2 separate regions of the Homo sapiens genome follow, and region 1 is linked to region 2. The links are contacts of gene promoters, found by promoter capture Hi-C in human tissues and cell types (Jung and others, 2019). All regions are on one chromosome and are shown on one strand. The core of a region is centred on a gene start or on the middle of the fragment in contact, and the rest is flanking DNA. Distances in the headings are between cores, read along the strand shown. Region 1 overlaps MED27 (mediator complex subunit 27). Region 2 holds the start of FUBP3 (far upstream element binding protein 3).

Region 1 (3,484 bases), core at 61-2,560, 1.5 Mb after region 2:
CCTCAGCATCGTCTTAAGACAATAATAGCAGCCACTGGAGAGTACTGACTCTGTGCTAGCTTAAGTGCTTTACTTGTATCACCTCATTTTGTCCTCATAACACCTTTCTGAGGTGGGTACAATTATCATTCCCATCTTAGAGAATACAGCACTGAAGCACAGAGAGGTTAGCCTCACAGCTGTCAGGTAACACAGCATGTGAGCCAGAGTGGTCAGGCTCTGGAGCCTACGCTCTGAACCACCGAGCAACACTGCCACTTGATGAACGAGCACACACACGAGAAACAGGCGTCCCATGAATGAGCACACACACATACGTGTAACATGCACCCCATAAATGAGCACACACACGAGTAACGCACACCCCATGAACGAGCACACACACACATGAATAACAGGTGCCTCATAAATGAGCACACACACGAGTAACACACACCCCACAAATAAGTCCATACACGTACGAGTAACACTCACTCCATGAGCACACACACATGCGAGTAACACACACCCCATGAACGAGCACACCAAACACACAAGTAACCCGTATCCCATGAACCTGTGCCCCATGAACGAGCACATGCATACAAGTAACCCACACCTCATGAACGAACACACGCATGAGTAACCCGTGCCCCATGAATGAGCACACGTGTATACGAGTAACACGCGTCCATGAACAAGCACATATGCATACGAGTAATGCACGTCCATGAACGAGCACACATGCATACGAGTAACACACGTCCATGAACGAGCACACATGCATACGAGTAATGCACGCCCCATAAGTGAGTACACACATACACACACCCCATGAACAAGCACACACACACACACGCATAACACGCGCCCCATGGATGAGCACACAAGCATATGAGTAACACACACCCCATAAATGAGTACAGAGGCATATGAGTAACATGCAATCCATGAGTACACAGGCACAGAAGTAACGCACGCCTCATAAATGAGCACACACGTGTATGCGCAACACGCACCCCGTGAACGAGCACACAGGCACTTGCGTAACACACACCCCATAAATAAGTACACATGCATATGAGTAACACGCACTCCATGAGTACACATGCGTACAAGTAACACACGTTCCATAAATGAGTACACACATGTGTACTATCACGATGCCTGGTCATTATAACTACCATTTACTTAGCACTTACTATGTGTGAGTTACCCTAAGACATTTGATGTGCATTATCTCAATCTTCGCTTCAACCCTATGATCCAAATACTAGTATTATCCCCATTCTACAGATGAGGAAACTGATACTCAAAAAGATTTTTTTCCCTTGTATCAAGGGTTGTGAGCTCAAGCATAAGCAGAGCTGGATCAGAACTCAGGTAGTCTTGACTCCAGAACTTACATCTAAGTTTTTATATTTTTGTTATACCTTCCTTGACTTCTGAATCCTGCCATGTATCTTGCTGTCCAGGAGACTGGCTGTATTTCATTGTTTTCTCTGGTTGGCTGTTCTTTTCACAATGGCTCCCACGGTATCCAGGGTTTGCAGGTGGGGAGGGAGGAGGAGGGTGTAGGGTTCAAGGCTAACCAGGGCAGTCTATACTACAGCCAAACTCACTACGCTAGCAAGTTCATTTTGAGTGATGGGGTGCTACGAAGGTTAGATTTAGGTGAAAGAACACCTTTGCCAATAAAAGGACAATTCAGAAGGGTGCTCAATCCTAAAGTCATGATGATTAAATTGTGAGGGGCATTTAAGTGATTTTCTCTCCTATTATATTCTGAAGGAATCTGTATTCCCTGAACATGTAGCAGCTATATGGAGAGAAGAATGAGTCAGGGGTGGGCCTGGTGGGAAGGAAAACACAAGTAGAAATCGGTTATACGTAACTCACAAAGTAGGATAACCCTAAGAGGCTGGTGGAATTGACTCTCCTCTTCCCAGACAGTTTTCACACTGCTGCCAAAATGACAGCCGCCACAGAACACCTGACATCAGGTGCAGCAGCTCAAATTAGCCTGACTCAGGCAACTCCAAAAAACTTCCACCAAGTCCCATTAGAAGGGCACACCAGGTGACAGATGATGTGGATAAAACTGCTACAATCAGCCTTCAAAGAGCTTATCATTGGTTCACCCAATGACCTCACCTTGGCCTTCCAAATGACCCCCAGCCCTGGCCTCCATCATAAGGTCTCCAAATTGCCTCCCATCCAAGCACCACAACTGGCTTTCTCAGTAATGGCTGAAAATGGAAATGCCCTCACTGTACTTCATCAAAAATACAAGCAAGCAAACCACGAAAGGGGTTGTAAATTAAAAATTCAACAGAAAACGCTTCGATTCATTTATTCTTTCATTCTCTCAGTGAATCTTCACTGAATGATTACAGTGTACCAGGCGCCTTGCTAGTTGCTGGGGACTCCCAGCAAGGAACAAGATGGACATGGTGCCTCTCCCCTGAGCCTTATAGTTTACCCTTAATAGAGGACAGAGTCCCTAAAGGAAAGGCTCTGCGTTGCAATGTAAAACGATTCCAACCCTGTTAGTTCCATGATGCAAAAACAGAAAAGAGCACCTTCAGAGATAGATGTGAGAGGTGAACTTTGCAGTAACTTAGTCATTAAGCAACTGGATTCTAATAAGAACAGTTCAGGAGGGCAGGAGGGAGGAAATGTCTTCAGACTTTCCAATGGAATATTCTTGGAATAGAAAGTTGCTCTTTCTGTAATAAAAAAAAAATCAAACGTGAAAAAAAAAAAAGGTAGCAGCAGCACCTCGCTCTGGGCCCATTTCCCAAGCCCAGTAAAAAGTGACACTTCTGGGGTCTTTGCAGCTTCAGATGTTGCCAGGGAAAGGCGGACGTCTTAGTCTGCTTTTCCAGGCAAATATACAAGTAGCCTTCTGCCATAAACAAATGAAAAAAATCAAAGCCAGAAATAAAAGCCTGGTGACAGGATGCCAGAAACCTTCAAAAGAGGACCTTCAGAATAAGTTCAGGTTAACTCTCAGCATCTCTGAACATAATAAGCACTATCAAGTCTACATTGACTATTTTATAGCAAGGACAGCGTTGATGCCAATTATTTTTTGCCCTAGTCAAGAAAGCTTGTCATCCTTCTCACAACAATTATCTATAGGTGCATAATAGTGAAAAGCTAAATTCTTTCCCCAATTCAGTACAGGAAAAGTGCTGCTCACAGCAATTTAACATCATTCCATTAGATGGGATTCATTTTTAAACATGTTATTCTAACAATTATGCCAAGTACCATGTAATTAATATTCCAACTGACTTTACAAAAATTACAAAATCCCCTAAAGAAAATAATTAGTCATTAGGCATGAACGAGACTTTTCTATGGCCAACAGCACATAAAACAGAAAGTTCATCTCATAATGGATGGGTATCAAAGCCTTTCTCATATGTCCTTCAATTCTTAGCCAATAGTGCATAGAGCTGACATTGGCAAGTTACCCCAAACTTCACTTAACCCATTA
Region 2 (3,296 bases), core at 4-2,503:
CTGCAGTGGCGTGATCATAGCTCACTGCAGCCTTGACCTCCAGGGCTCAGGTGATCCTCCCACTCCAGCCTCCCAAGTAGCTGGGACTACAGGTGTTTGCCACCACGCCCAGCTAATTATATTTTTTGTAGAGACGGGGTCTCACTATGCTGCCTAGGCTGGTCTTGAATTTCTGGGCTCAAGAGTTCTGCCTGCCTTGGCCTCCCAAACTGCTAAGATTACAGGCGTGAGCTACCGCACCCGGCCCGTATTGGATTTTATTTATTTCCTTTTCTTGGTGCTCATCCTCCTTCACAACTTCAAGATGGGCATAAGATGTTTGACAACATGGTTCTTCATTAAGTCCAACTCCTTATCATAATAGGGCTTGGGAAATATTAAACACGAGGGCAATCGTGCTAACACAAAAATGGGCGCCCCCTAAACCTTGTTACTTGTTTGCTCACTTATAAGAAGAGCCAACTCAAAGGCTCAACTGAATTCTAGCACTAAGATTCCTTCCTTGCTGTAGAAGATCTGTACCTGGTCACTTCCATTAAAGTTACATAGGCGTTCCAAGAAGCCTCCTGCAATACAGTTGTGACTCAGCCGGTATGGGAGTAATGACGGTCCTGTGGTATTTCCTGCACCCCCAGAGTCCCAGAGTTTGTTAAGGACCGTGTAAGAGGACACCACGCTGGCTTTTCAGTGGGCGCGTCTCTCCTGGGGGCATCACCAGACAACCCCAGGCGGAAGTGGCGGTGGCCCATCCTCATGCAAACTGCAGTGTAAGAACTGGGGCCCGGGACTCCTCGCAAATGTGGGACACTGACATTCTGTGATGCTGTCCCAATGCCCTTTCAAAGCGCTCAGCCCCCAAATTCCCAACCAACAGCCATTTCAGGGAGGGGCTACCCAGGACCAGGCTTTTGATGAACCACGACTGTTCGGGGTGCCGTCTTGGGAGAGCCACGTCAGTCCCTCTGAGATTCCAAACGGCCGACAGCGGACACCTCGGGACCACATCCAAGCCTCGGGGACCTGTCAAGACGCCATCGACGGTCCTGGACCAAATCCCGCCCGGGAAGGGAAGGGTCGCGACCGGACCCTGGAGACCCACGGCTGCCTGGCGATCTGAGCCCACCCCGGCGCTGCCGTCCCGCCCCCACTTCCGATCGGTCGAAGGTCACGTGCCCTGACCCCGCCCCGCAGACGCGACTCCTCCAGCTGCGAGCGTCCCGGCTTTCCCTTCCGCCGGAAGTAGGGCGACTTTCCTTTTCCGGCTACGGGTCCCCAAGCGGAGCGGGAGGCCGGACCGGGGAGCCGAGCGGCGGCGTCGGCGGCGTCGGCGGCGGCGGCGACGGCGGCGGGGGCGGTAATGGCGGAGCTGGTGCAGGGGCAGAGCGCTCCTGTGGGGATGAAGGCCGAGGGCTTCGTGGATGCCCTGCACCGGGTCCGGCAGGTACGGGCGCAGCCGGCTGGCAGGAGCACGAGATCCCGAGGCGGGGCCTGGCGGGCGGGGAAGAGGGGTTCGGGCCTGGGGGGCGGGAGGCAGCCTGAACCGACGTCTCAGCCGGGCCGGGCCGTTCCGTGGAGTTCCTACAGCCGGGAGGAGCCGGGGGGATAAGGCGCCACTGCGAGGCCCAGGCCCGGCCTGTCGGGCGGGTCTCCCAGGTGCCTGAAGTCGCTGGGAAAGGGTTTGCTTAGAGCGTCTGGCCCCATCGTGCCCCAGCGGCCAGCCTGGACCCACAGTGTAGCTAGCGCGGGGTTCTGAACCTCGCGAGGGGAGGGGTCCGGGAAGCCCACGGGGAGGATCTGGGTGTAGACATAAAGCAGCTGTCTGACGCCCAGTAGCTTGTTAAAACTTGGGGAACATCGTCTTTAGACTTTCTGTTGAGTAGAAGGAACTCGAGGGCATCTTATATGTGAGGGTGCTCTTTGGAGAGGTGAGAGAGGGAGGTGTTACATGTGTGGGGGTGGTCCCCAAGATGTAGAAATTTCTCATGGCAAGCTTGCCTCTACTGGGGAGAATGATATGGCCTCATTCCGACATTGAAACTTTACTGTCTGACAATGTCGTGCATTTAATCAAAGTTAAATTAACTGGGTTTTAGAAGGCTCCAGGCTTCCCCAGAGAGTGAATATGGGACCTGCCAAAAATACTTACTGGCTTCTGGCATGGTACTTAGAACAGAACGTGTTCTTCATTTGTATCTAAAACTTACTTACAAGTCAGCCCTAACACTTCAGCTTCCTCGGTTAAGTGTCTTATGTCCTCCTCTCTTCTTATGTAATTGTAAGCGCACTGATACTTTAAAAGTTGGGCTATAACTAATTACTGCTTGATTCCTAACAGAAAGCCACAGGAGTCATTGTATTAGAAGAAGGTCTTCACTCGGGCGCTTGAAGATATGGTCTTTACATCTCTTTCCAGTATTCCAGGGGAGGGAACCCTACCTGTTTCCCTGATAACTGACTTTTCATGTTATATATTGATGCTCCTATAGACATTATATTGGATCCCAGAACTTTCCAAACCTGTGGTTCCACCTAAAATTTTATCTGATGAATTGTTACTTTACTGCCTAGCTGCCAACCAGTACAGTAGTGAGTATCCATCTTACTTAGACTTCAGATCCACCCATGGCTGTAATGGATGAACATGCCACCCAGCTCCCCTTCCACCACTCTGCTTGCTGGCGTGTTACAGTGCTCTCCTCTACAGTACAGGGTCCTGAACCTTGTTTCTCACTGGCTACTAATATGTAATGGCTTTCGCTCTGTGCTGATGTGTGACAGTCACCTTGTTGGCCTTCTATGTCCGGGAAGAATTATAGTCACTGCCCTAAAGGGCTCAGATCCTCAGTTTGCAGAAGGCCTGTAGTTGAACATAAAGTGAATTTTGAACCATTGAGAAGACATTCCGCTTCTCTTGAGCCAGTGGTTGAACTCATATTCTTGGACAACCTGCTCCAGAGGGAGACCCTCTGGTAAATGCTGACCTAATGTGGATTGTTGAAGCAGTGGTGTTTACTACTAGCAGTGAAAACTTCATTGGAATTGTTCTCAGCTCTGAAATGCACCATTGACTGGAGCAGTAATAAGCCCAATGGAGACAGGGCTGTAAGTGTGTTCCTTCTGAATGTTAACAGCTGGAGGTCCATACTATCTCCAAGGATTTGATGGCCTTTAAAAACTAAAGAAAAACCAGGTTGGTGGGTAATTTTAGGTTTATTGTATATAGATTTGCATTGGGCAAGAACGGAATGTTAGAAATCTGTAATACTGTATGCTGATGGTAAACTTACTGTAAGGAT

Evidence for each region. The method cuts DNA at HindIII sites, captures the fragments that hold promoters and counts their contacts. A contact is called where the count stands out against the background at its distance.
Region 1: a fragment that was not itself captured here is called in contact with the fragment with the promoter of FUBP3 in region 2 in 1 of the 25 tissues and cell types used here (hippocampus).

The regions. Positions count from the first base shown.
Region 1 is chr9:132,071,035-132,074,518 of GRCh38, forward strand. The region is part of intron 2 of MED27 (mediator complex subunit 27); the gene reads right to left. Among named protein-coding and RNA genes, the nearest start is that of MED27, 7.1 kb to the right of the region's middle. The HindIII fragment of the contact is 9,993 bases long and covers 1-3,484 here.
Region 2 is chr9:130,578,324-130,581,619 of GRCh38, forward strand. FUBP3 (far upstream element binding protein 3) reads left to right here and starts at 1,254. Exons shown (of 19, transcript NM_003934.2): 1 at 1,254-1,441. The coding sequence starts at 1,358. LOC100272217 (a long non-coding RNA gene) reads right to left here and starts at 1,171. Exons shown (of 1, transcript NR_027440.1): 1 at 1-1,171. LOC124902286 (a long non-coding RNA gene) reads left to right here and starts at 1,517. Exons shown (of 2, transcript XR_007061818.1): 1 at 1,517-1,925; 2 at 2,336-3,296. RefSeq lists a silencer at 1,202-1,571. The HindIII fragment of the contact is 10,079 bases long and covers 1-2,705 here.